Linked DNA regions of Homo sapiens: region 2 is linked to region 1. The links are contacts of gene promoters, found by promoter capture Hi-C in human tissues and cell types (Jung and others, 2019). All regions are on one chromosome and are shown on one strand. Each heading gives the region's core, a stretch centred on a gene start or on the middle of the fragment in contact. The rest is flanking DNA. Distances are from core to core; before and after follow the strand shown. Region 1 holds the start of C1QB (complement C1q B chain). Region 2 holds the start of ZBTB40 (zinc finger and BTB domain containing 40).

Region 1 (4,160 bases), core at 1,537-4,036:
GGGGCGGAAGAACCTGGACGGTTCACTGAGTCCAGTGCCCCCGGCGGGGACAGCGTGAAGGCCACGGCCACAGCATCCACTGCTCTCCTCCACCAACCCCTTAGCTGTCGGCCGGGCGAAGCTGTGGGTGATATGTCTTTCTTCTCATTTCTCTTTTGTTTAAAAAATCAATACACCATTTATGTAGGTCACAGTGTCATATCAGAAACCTGTACTTTGGAAATGACAATTTTGTGCCATTTTTATTTTCCATAATTGTTTCCTTGTTGTTCTCTCTTCATCAGGGGGGCAAGCCTTTGAAAATGCCAACGTGTCTGCCTTGCTGAGGGGAGGCGGGGGAGAGTTTTTCAGTGGGGCAGGCAAGGAGGGGTGGACGTGGGGCAGGAGCCAGGACAAGACACCCCAAGCTGCAAGGAACCCCTTTCCAACCACAGGAAGGTGAGGGGGTGTAGGTTTCTTTTTCCACTCTTTGCAGGGATCAGGGATTTTCCACTCTCAATCAGGGATGTGAGTCCAAAATTTTGTAGGTACAGAGACCAGCTGGCTCCCATTAGCGGTCAAGGCCCAGGGACCCCTCAGCTCCTGATCCCCAAGTCCAGGCCTCCTCCTAATCCAGGCATGGCTTCTTTGCTCCTGGGTTCCAAGAATTCCATCTTCTCTTCATATAAGTAATACCGTTCCCATGTTTGCAGTGGGTGCCCACCAAGGGCTGGGCACTCACCTGGCCCTGGACATGGCAGGGGGACCTCGCTGGCCCCCAAAACAGCCCCAGGAGATAGGCGTTCATGCTTCCCATTTCTACACGAGGAAACTGAGGCCAGTAAACATTCCCGTGGCCACATAGTTAGCAAGACGAAGAGCTGGGATTCAAACTGCCAAAGTCCGTGCTCCTAACCCACCTCTGCTGCTTCCTGTTCTTAGCCTCACTGCTTCTACCCCAAATTGACATCCATCTTTTCCCATTGCCCTTAGCCACCTAAGAATTAGAGGCCCAGAGGCTGGGCATGGTGGCTCACGCCTGTAATCCCAGCACTTTGGGAGGCCGAGGCAGGCAGATCAACTTGAGGTCAGGAGTTTGAGACCGGCCTGGCCAACATGGTGAAACCCTGTATCTACTAAAAAAAAATACAAAAATTAGCTGGGCTTGGTGGCATGCACCTGTAGTCCCAGCTACCTGGGAGGCTGAGGCAGGAGAATCGCTTGAACTTGGGAGGAAGAGGTTCTAGTGAGCTGAGGTCGCACCACTGCACTCCAGCCTGAGCAACAGACTGAGACTCCATCTCAAGAAAAAAAAAAAAAAAAAGAACTAGAGGCCCAGAGCCACTCGGCTTTGGGAATGCTCAGAAGCCCTCAACTTGCAACCTACTAACTCGTTTCTCCCTTTGTGGAATCCAGTGTTTCTTCTCTTCACCCTAGCCTGGGTCCCTTCGGGACTATAGTTGACTGAGCTCAGAGACCTTTTGGTTTTATCAAACTTATCTTTCCCTCCTGTTCACCCATTGCAGTTAACACTTAATTTCCACCAAGCTGCATCCACAAGCCCAGTGAATTTCCATCTCCAAGCACAGATGTCAAGAGGGCCTCCAGCTCCTGGTGCTTGCTAGTCATCATGTCGTCTGAGACGCAGCCACAGGGAGAGACTGATATCCTAGTGCCAGGGATGCCGGCTTCCAGGTCTGCATCTGCCACCTCCATGAGGCATCGGCCCCAGCAGTCACGTCTTTCTGTGACATTTATCACAGAAGCAATGAAGCCTCATGTCATTCCGTGTTTAACACCAGTCTCCCCCCGTAGAAGGGAGGCCCCATGGGGGCAGGGACCATGGCTGATTTGCTAAGAGCTCTCTCTTCAGTGCACATGGAAGCAAACACTAAATATTTGTTAAATGGTGGGTCTCCCCTCTGGGCCTCAGTTTCCTCGTATATAAAATGAGGAGGATGGGCCGAGTAACCTCAGCCCCTCTCCGGCCCTAACTTGGCGTGATTCCAGGATCGAGAAGAAGCAACAGGCCCCTGCCTGGGCCTATTATTGTCATCAGCGTCCAGCCCTGCTGGAAGCAGAGGGAGGGGTATCAATAAATAATGAACACATTTAAAATTCATTATGAGATTATTTTCTGAGAACAGGGAAAGAGCAGGGGCACAGAATGGGAAGGAAGCAGAAGAGATGAGCCCAGAAAGGGGAAGCCTGGGACATGAAGTGATATTAACAATGAACACGTGCACAGCCCTTTACAGTTTACCCCCAGACACTTCCTCCCCCATCATTTCCTCCATTATCCTCCCAGTGGCCTGTGAGATCTGTATCTGTAGAGCAGGTACAATTATGGTCCCATCCTATAGCAGAGAAAATTGGGGCTCCCTTGACTGACAACACATCAACTGGCAAGTGGCAGAGGCGGGATTGGAATCAAAGGCTCTGACTGTAAGCCAGCACTCAGGCAGCGGGCCCGCCACATGATGCTCACTGAGGAACACCCCTGCCCAGTGTAGAAGAAGATCACGAGGTCAGAGAGCCTGGGAGGGTGAGCTGTGGATGTTCCCCCAGGACAGCGTGTTCTCCCCACAGCTGCTGAGTTGGCAGAACCAAACTTGCCACCCACCCGTCTCATTTACAGTAAATCCAGTGGGTTGCAGAAATAGGACCTGAAACTGCCTGAGGGCAGCAGGGTGGGGGGACAGTGAGGGGACGGGAAAGGGGCCAGCCTGCTGGTCCATGGGAGGGGACCGTCAGGGGAAAGCCCTTCCCGCCTCTGGGGAAGGGAACTTCCGCTTCGGACCGAGGGCAGTAGGCTCTCGGCTCCTGGTCCCACTGCTGCTCAGCCCAGTGGCCTCACAGGACACCAGCTTCCCAGGTGAGGACGGGGCTTGGCGCCTGGGGGAGGCTGGCAGGGCCAATATGGCAGAAAGTGGTGATTCCGTAAGTGTGAGCTTTGCGTCACCTGCCTCGGAGCCAGTTAGGCTGTTTAACAGTGCAGGTAGCTGGGCCCAATCCCAGACCTATGGGACCCAGATCTCTGGGGTGAGTTGGGGAGTCTGCTGCTACCCAGGGCCTAGCGGATGGGCAGGCCACCTAAAGCGGGAGCCTGGCACATAGGAGCTTTGGCATCGCAGAGACTTGAGCTGAGTCTGGCTCTGCACCTTATGTATTGGTTATCTTGGGCAAGTCACCTAACCTCTCTCAGCCCGGCCCCCCTACAGAGAACAGAATCTTTCAGCACTGCTGTGCCTTACAGGAGATCAAGCTTGCAAAAGCTTAGTGCATGCCCTGGCTCAAAATTTATCAGTAAACCAGAGGCAGGAGTGGGATTATAAGCCAGTCGCTCCTGCCCGGCCCAGCATTTCCCCAACACCTTGCTTATTTCCTCATACTCGCTGAGAAAGCTCAGCTTGACTCTTCCAAAGAAATAAGGGGATGTGCAGGTAGAGTTACGATGAGTTCTCAGCTAGTACTGAGTGAGCGCAATGTTTGTGCAGCTGGGGAGTGGGATGTGGCACTGCACGGGGCAGGGGGGACCTTATTTCTTCTAAGCGCCTTCTCCTGTCATCCTTCTGGCAGCCCTGTCAGGTTGAAATCAGCATTGCCAAGAGGCTCAGAGAGGTTAAGGCACTTGCCTGAGGTTATGCAGCCGGTAGCAGATGGGGCTTTAAAGTCAAGTGGGCCTGACTCCATGTTGCGGAAAGGGACTGCTGGACCGAAGGAGATGGAAAGGTCAGAGCCTGGGGGGAGGACAGGAGAAACCGCGCTGGCAATGATGATGGGCTGGCACAGGCAGGAGGCAGTTAAACCAGATGAGTTGTAAGCCCTAACCCAAGGCTGAAACTCGGTGGCTTTTGAAATGGGCTAGAACCAGCACTTTCCCACTCCCCCTGCCCCTGGCTTCCCCAGGAAGCCCAAGTCCTGTCAGTACCCTGCTCCCCACCCTCTCTCCCCACCAACTGGTCACAGCTCTCCACCCCTTGCTGCCTCCAACTGACAGAGCCCCTCCCTCTAAACACAGTCTTTCAAAGGGATTGTCTTTTTTTACTTCTCCAACCATCTTCCCTTCTGTTCAACCACTCAGGAATTCTTGGATGACAGTGATAATAATAAAATAGCTAATATTCATTAAGAATTTCCAACATGCCAGGCTCTGTTGGAAGCTGTAACTCATGTCCTCG
Region 2 (4,234 bases), core at 990-3,489, 200 kb before region 1:
AGATGTCTAAAACAATCCCCCCAGGGAAAGATTCCTTTCCATATTTCCTAAATATTTTATAATAAGCATGTATTCATTTAAAAAAAGTTATAGAAAGCCTCTTCTTTGTCACTGCTGTCCCAATAACTGAGTACACTTGGTGGCCACTTTTCTTTTGCTCTCTTCGTTTAGTCCCTATAGGATTTGAAGTCTTGTTAAGTGGAACAGGAGGGACAGATGGTGCCTGAAAACTTATTCCTATTGAGACTCCTGAGCTTCAAGCCATCTGCATTCACATACAGCACATTGGCAATGATACTGTTTTTTAAAATCCATTAATTCGATAAATATTTCTCTTTTTTTTTTTTTTGAGACGGAGTCTCGCTCTCGTTGCCCAGGCTGGAGTGCAGTGGCGTGATCTCAGCTCACTCCAACCTCCGCCTCCCAGGTTCAAGCGATTCTCCTGCCTCAGCATCCTGAGTAACTGGGATTACAGGCACCTGCCACCATGCCCAGGTAATTTTTCTATTTTTAGTAGAGACGGGGGTTTCACCATGTTGGCCAGGCTGGTCTCGAACTCCTGACCTCAGGTGATCCGCCTGCCTCGGCCTCCCAAAATGCTCCCAAAATGCCCAGTGGCTCACACCTGTAATCCCATTAACTCGATAAATATTTCTAGAGCACCTACTATGTGCCAAGCACCCTTCTAGGTGTTTGTTTGCTAAATCTAGCAACCCTATGTTCCCACTAAAAGAGAATGTGAGGCTGGTGGAAATGAGGGCTTAGGAGACACAACAGCTGTAGGCGTGGTTCCAGTTACTACAAAAGTGACTAAATAACAGCTACAGTAAATCCGACCCTGAATGTAACGGTGACATGAGTATAATAGTGAAAGTGACTAACTGGGCACAAGGGTATGAGGACAACAGTGTACCCTGAAGGGGCCTGTTAAATACTGGCTTGACTGTGTGGCAGCAAAAGTGGCTGCATGACAATGACAGTGAAAACAACAGAAAGGGCAACAGCTGGGCAAACAAAGTGCTATTTTGAACAGAACCGTTTGAAGTTTATGGTCAATGACGGTAGCTGCATGTCAGACAGTGACAGTAAATATGATCGACCGGGAGACAGCAACAATGCAAGTGACAGTTCTGCCCAGTAGATTGAATTTGTGATGTAAAACGGTGATGGGGTGAGTCAGTCAGCCAGAGACAGCTCTCAGAACGACTGAATATTGACATTGCAGATGGAAAAGGTATAACCACAGAGGAAGCTGGACATTGCACTAAGATGGCTGGATTTGGGCACGTAACTGTCAGGGACAGAAAAAGTGGCTGCATGTCAGTGACAGGGTGACTGTGTTCAGTGGGCCAGCGCGGAGGTGACTCAGTTTGTTACTGCTGGATCTGATTTAAATGTTTGTGTAAGGAAGGGTGGCAAGGGGACGCTTCAACAGGGAACGCATAGTGTGTGAGAAGGAAAATGAGCAAAAGAAAAGCTAGGACTAAATCCCAAAGCCCCTAAATCCCAAAATTGGGAGGTGCGAGAGGCAGGATCAGGATGCCTCCAGGATGCCTTCAGCCCACTGCGCCCCACCAGCGCCAAGCCTGTCCCACAAAGAGTGCGGGCTGGGGACGCGGCTCAGGTCGCCTCTCCGCCTCGCACGTGAATGTGTTGTTTTGGAAAAACGAAGCCTTTTGTGTTCACTTCCTTGCCCTCCTTTGAAACAAAATCCTAATCCTAGAGCTGCCGGAGCGAGACTGCGGAGCTCCATTAGAACTTTCCTTAGGGCCGGGCATGGTGGGAGGCCGAGGCAGGTGGATCATCTGGGCTCAGGAGTTCGGGACCAGCCTGGCCAACATGGTGACATCCTGTCTCTACTAAAAATAGAAGAGAAAAAAAAAATTAGCAGGGCGTGGTGGCGCGCGCCTGTAATCCCAGCTACTCGGGAGGCTGAGGCAGGAGAATCGCTTGAACCTGGAAGGCGGAGGCTGCAGTGGGGCGAGATCGCGCCGCTACACTCCAGCCTGGGAAACAAGAGCGAATCTCCCATCTCAAAAAAAAAAAAAAGAAAAAAACTTTACTTAGGAAGTGTGGGGAGGGAAGGAGGGAGTGGCCAAGGTCAGAGGTCAGAGAAGAGCCTAGCAACCAGCCGGCCCCCGCCGTCCTAGCATAGGTGGAGAGCGAGCGCGTGACGCAGGCCCCGCCCCCAGCACGTGACCGCGGCGCGTGGGGCAGGTCGGGCCGCCCCCTCCCCTCTGATACCCATTGCGCGCCGGCCTCAAGATGGCCGCCTTCTGGCGTCTCCGGCGCTGTTGAATGGCGAAAGCTTTATTGTTCCCTTCGGGCAGGAGTGTTCGTGTCCTCTATGGCGCTGTCAATAAAGAACGGCAGTTTGAATCGGTGCTGAACAGGTAACCATAGAAACGGGGCTGGGACTCCGCGTGGAGACCCTTCCTGCAGCGGGGGCCCGGGTGCGCCCTAAATGAGGGGTGTATACAGACCCTTCCGCGTGGCGAACTCCGCGGGACTCGGCCGAATCACGGCCGCCTCACCTACACCCCGGACGTGCCCCCTCCAGGGGCGGTCCGCACCCCTGGCGCCGGCTCTGCTGTAGACTGCGGAGGGGAGAGACCGCGGGGACCCACTCAGGGCGCCAGGCCCGACCTGACACCGCCTGGGGCTCGCTGTCGCCCCGCACCTCCCTCTCGGCCCGTCCGGAGGCCTCTTGTCGCTGTCTCACTCCCCCTCCCTTCAGGTCCCTTCGCCGGGCGTCAGCGGACTATGGCCTTGGGCCTAATCCATGCCCCCCTTCTCTCTTCCCCTCTCGGTCTTTGTTTACAGTTGCAAATGGTTAGGGGGAAGAATATTTCATGTAATTTGCGAAAGTTCTATGAAATCAAGTCCATAAATGAAGTTTTATTGGAACACGGCCCTGTTCATTGTTGATGTATTGTCTATGGCTGCTTTCCTGCCAAGAGGGCAGAGCTGAGTAGTTGCGCAGCCGTTGCTTGGCTTTGATCGGCTGGCTCACAAAGCCAGAAATATTTCTGTCTGGTCCCTTACAGCAAAAGTTTACTGACCCCTGCCCTAAACACAAGGAGATTGGATCAGTGTTGTCATTCAGCTATTCCTCTCGTCGGTTCTTCTGGAGTGGGAAAAGAGTTAAAACTGCGCGATGCACCGAGAGCACTTTAGTTGACAGAACACTCTGGCTTCCCTTCTGGTCTTACTGACTATTCAGAGTTTCTCCTGCTTTGAATAGCGTTGGTACCATGCAGCCAGTGCTGCAATGAACCAGGTGCTTTATTTATATTCATACAAGTGTTGTTCTACTTTATGACGACGCTTTATAAGTAAGTATGGTATTTCCATTTTACAAACGAGGAAGAAATTTGTTCTGAGTGGTTAATATATGTATAGGTGTACTAGGTTATAGGGCTGCCAAATTGAGCCTGTCCCTGGGAGCCCCCTGCCTGATGGCACCGGTCAAACTGCTTTGGATTTTATTCTTTCAAGTCTTTTCTACCTGGAATTGTTTGTTCTTCCCTGGAATTGTACCCAGATCTTTGTATGGTTAATGGAGATTTAATTACAATCTCAGTGAAATTTTTTTCTACTTAGCTAAATCATCAAACTTCTGCCCCTCCTTTCTAATATAAACACTTTTCTTCTATGTCAGTAGTCCCCAAACTTAGCTATTCATTAGTGGTTTAACAAATGGTTTCAGAACACCCCATGCATGTACGCATGCATTCATTAATCATTTAGTGTTTGTTGAGCACTTACTGTGTACCAGAGACGTTTCAAATTCCTGGAAATACAGTGGTGAACAAGACAAATATGATTTCTGCCCTTCCATGGAATTTAAATTCTATGTGGGGCTTGGACAAGTGGTATACAGGTAGACAAAGATAATTTCAAATACAGCTGTAATAGCATCATCATAATAAAATTATTAGTTGCTATTTACTGAGTGATTATTTTGTGCCAGGTACTGTGCTAAGTGCTTTATTTATATGGACTATCACTTAATCCTCACACCAATACTATGACATAAGTAGTATTAATATTACCATTTTACGCATAGAGGAAACAAACTCACGTCGGAGAGATGTTCGAGGTTACATAGCTAAGGCATTCAGCTGAGAGCTGAAGCTAATCTGATCACACTGAACACCCTGTATTGTTCCATCTGTTTATTGTCTTTCCTACTAGCTTAGGAGGTCCTTAAGGGCAGGGACCACACCTTACT

What was found. The method cuts DNA at HindIII sites, captures the fragments that hold promoters and counts their contacts. A contact is called where the count stands out against the background at its distance.
Region 2: the fragment with the promoter of ZBTB40 here is called in contact with the fragment with the promoter of C1QB in region 1 in 2 of the 25 tissues and cell types used here (H1 embryonic stem cells and IMR-90 fibroblasts).

Annotation. Positions count from the first base shown.
Region 1 is chr1:22,650,450-22,654,609 of GRCh38, forward strand. C1QB (complement C1q B chain) reads left to right here and starts at 2,787. Exons shown (of 3, transcript NM_001378156.1): 1 at 2,787-2,854. The HindIII fragment of the contact is 7,433 bases long and covers 1-4,160 here.
Region 2 is chr1:22,449,612-22,453,845 of GRCh38, forward strand. ZBTB40 (zinc finger and BTB domain containing 40) reads left to right here and starts at 2,240. Exons shown (of 18, transcript NM_014870.4): 1 at 2,240-2,393. RefSeq lists silencers at 1,485-1,779, 2,094-2,293, 2,634-2,723 and enhancers at 2,169-2,730, 2,444-2,523. The HindIII fragment of the contact is 15,295 bases long and covers 1-4,234 here.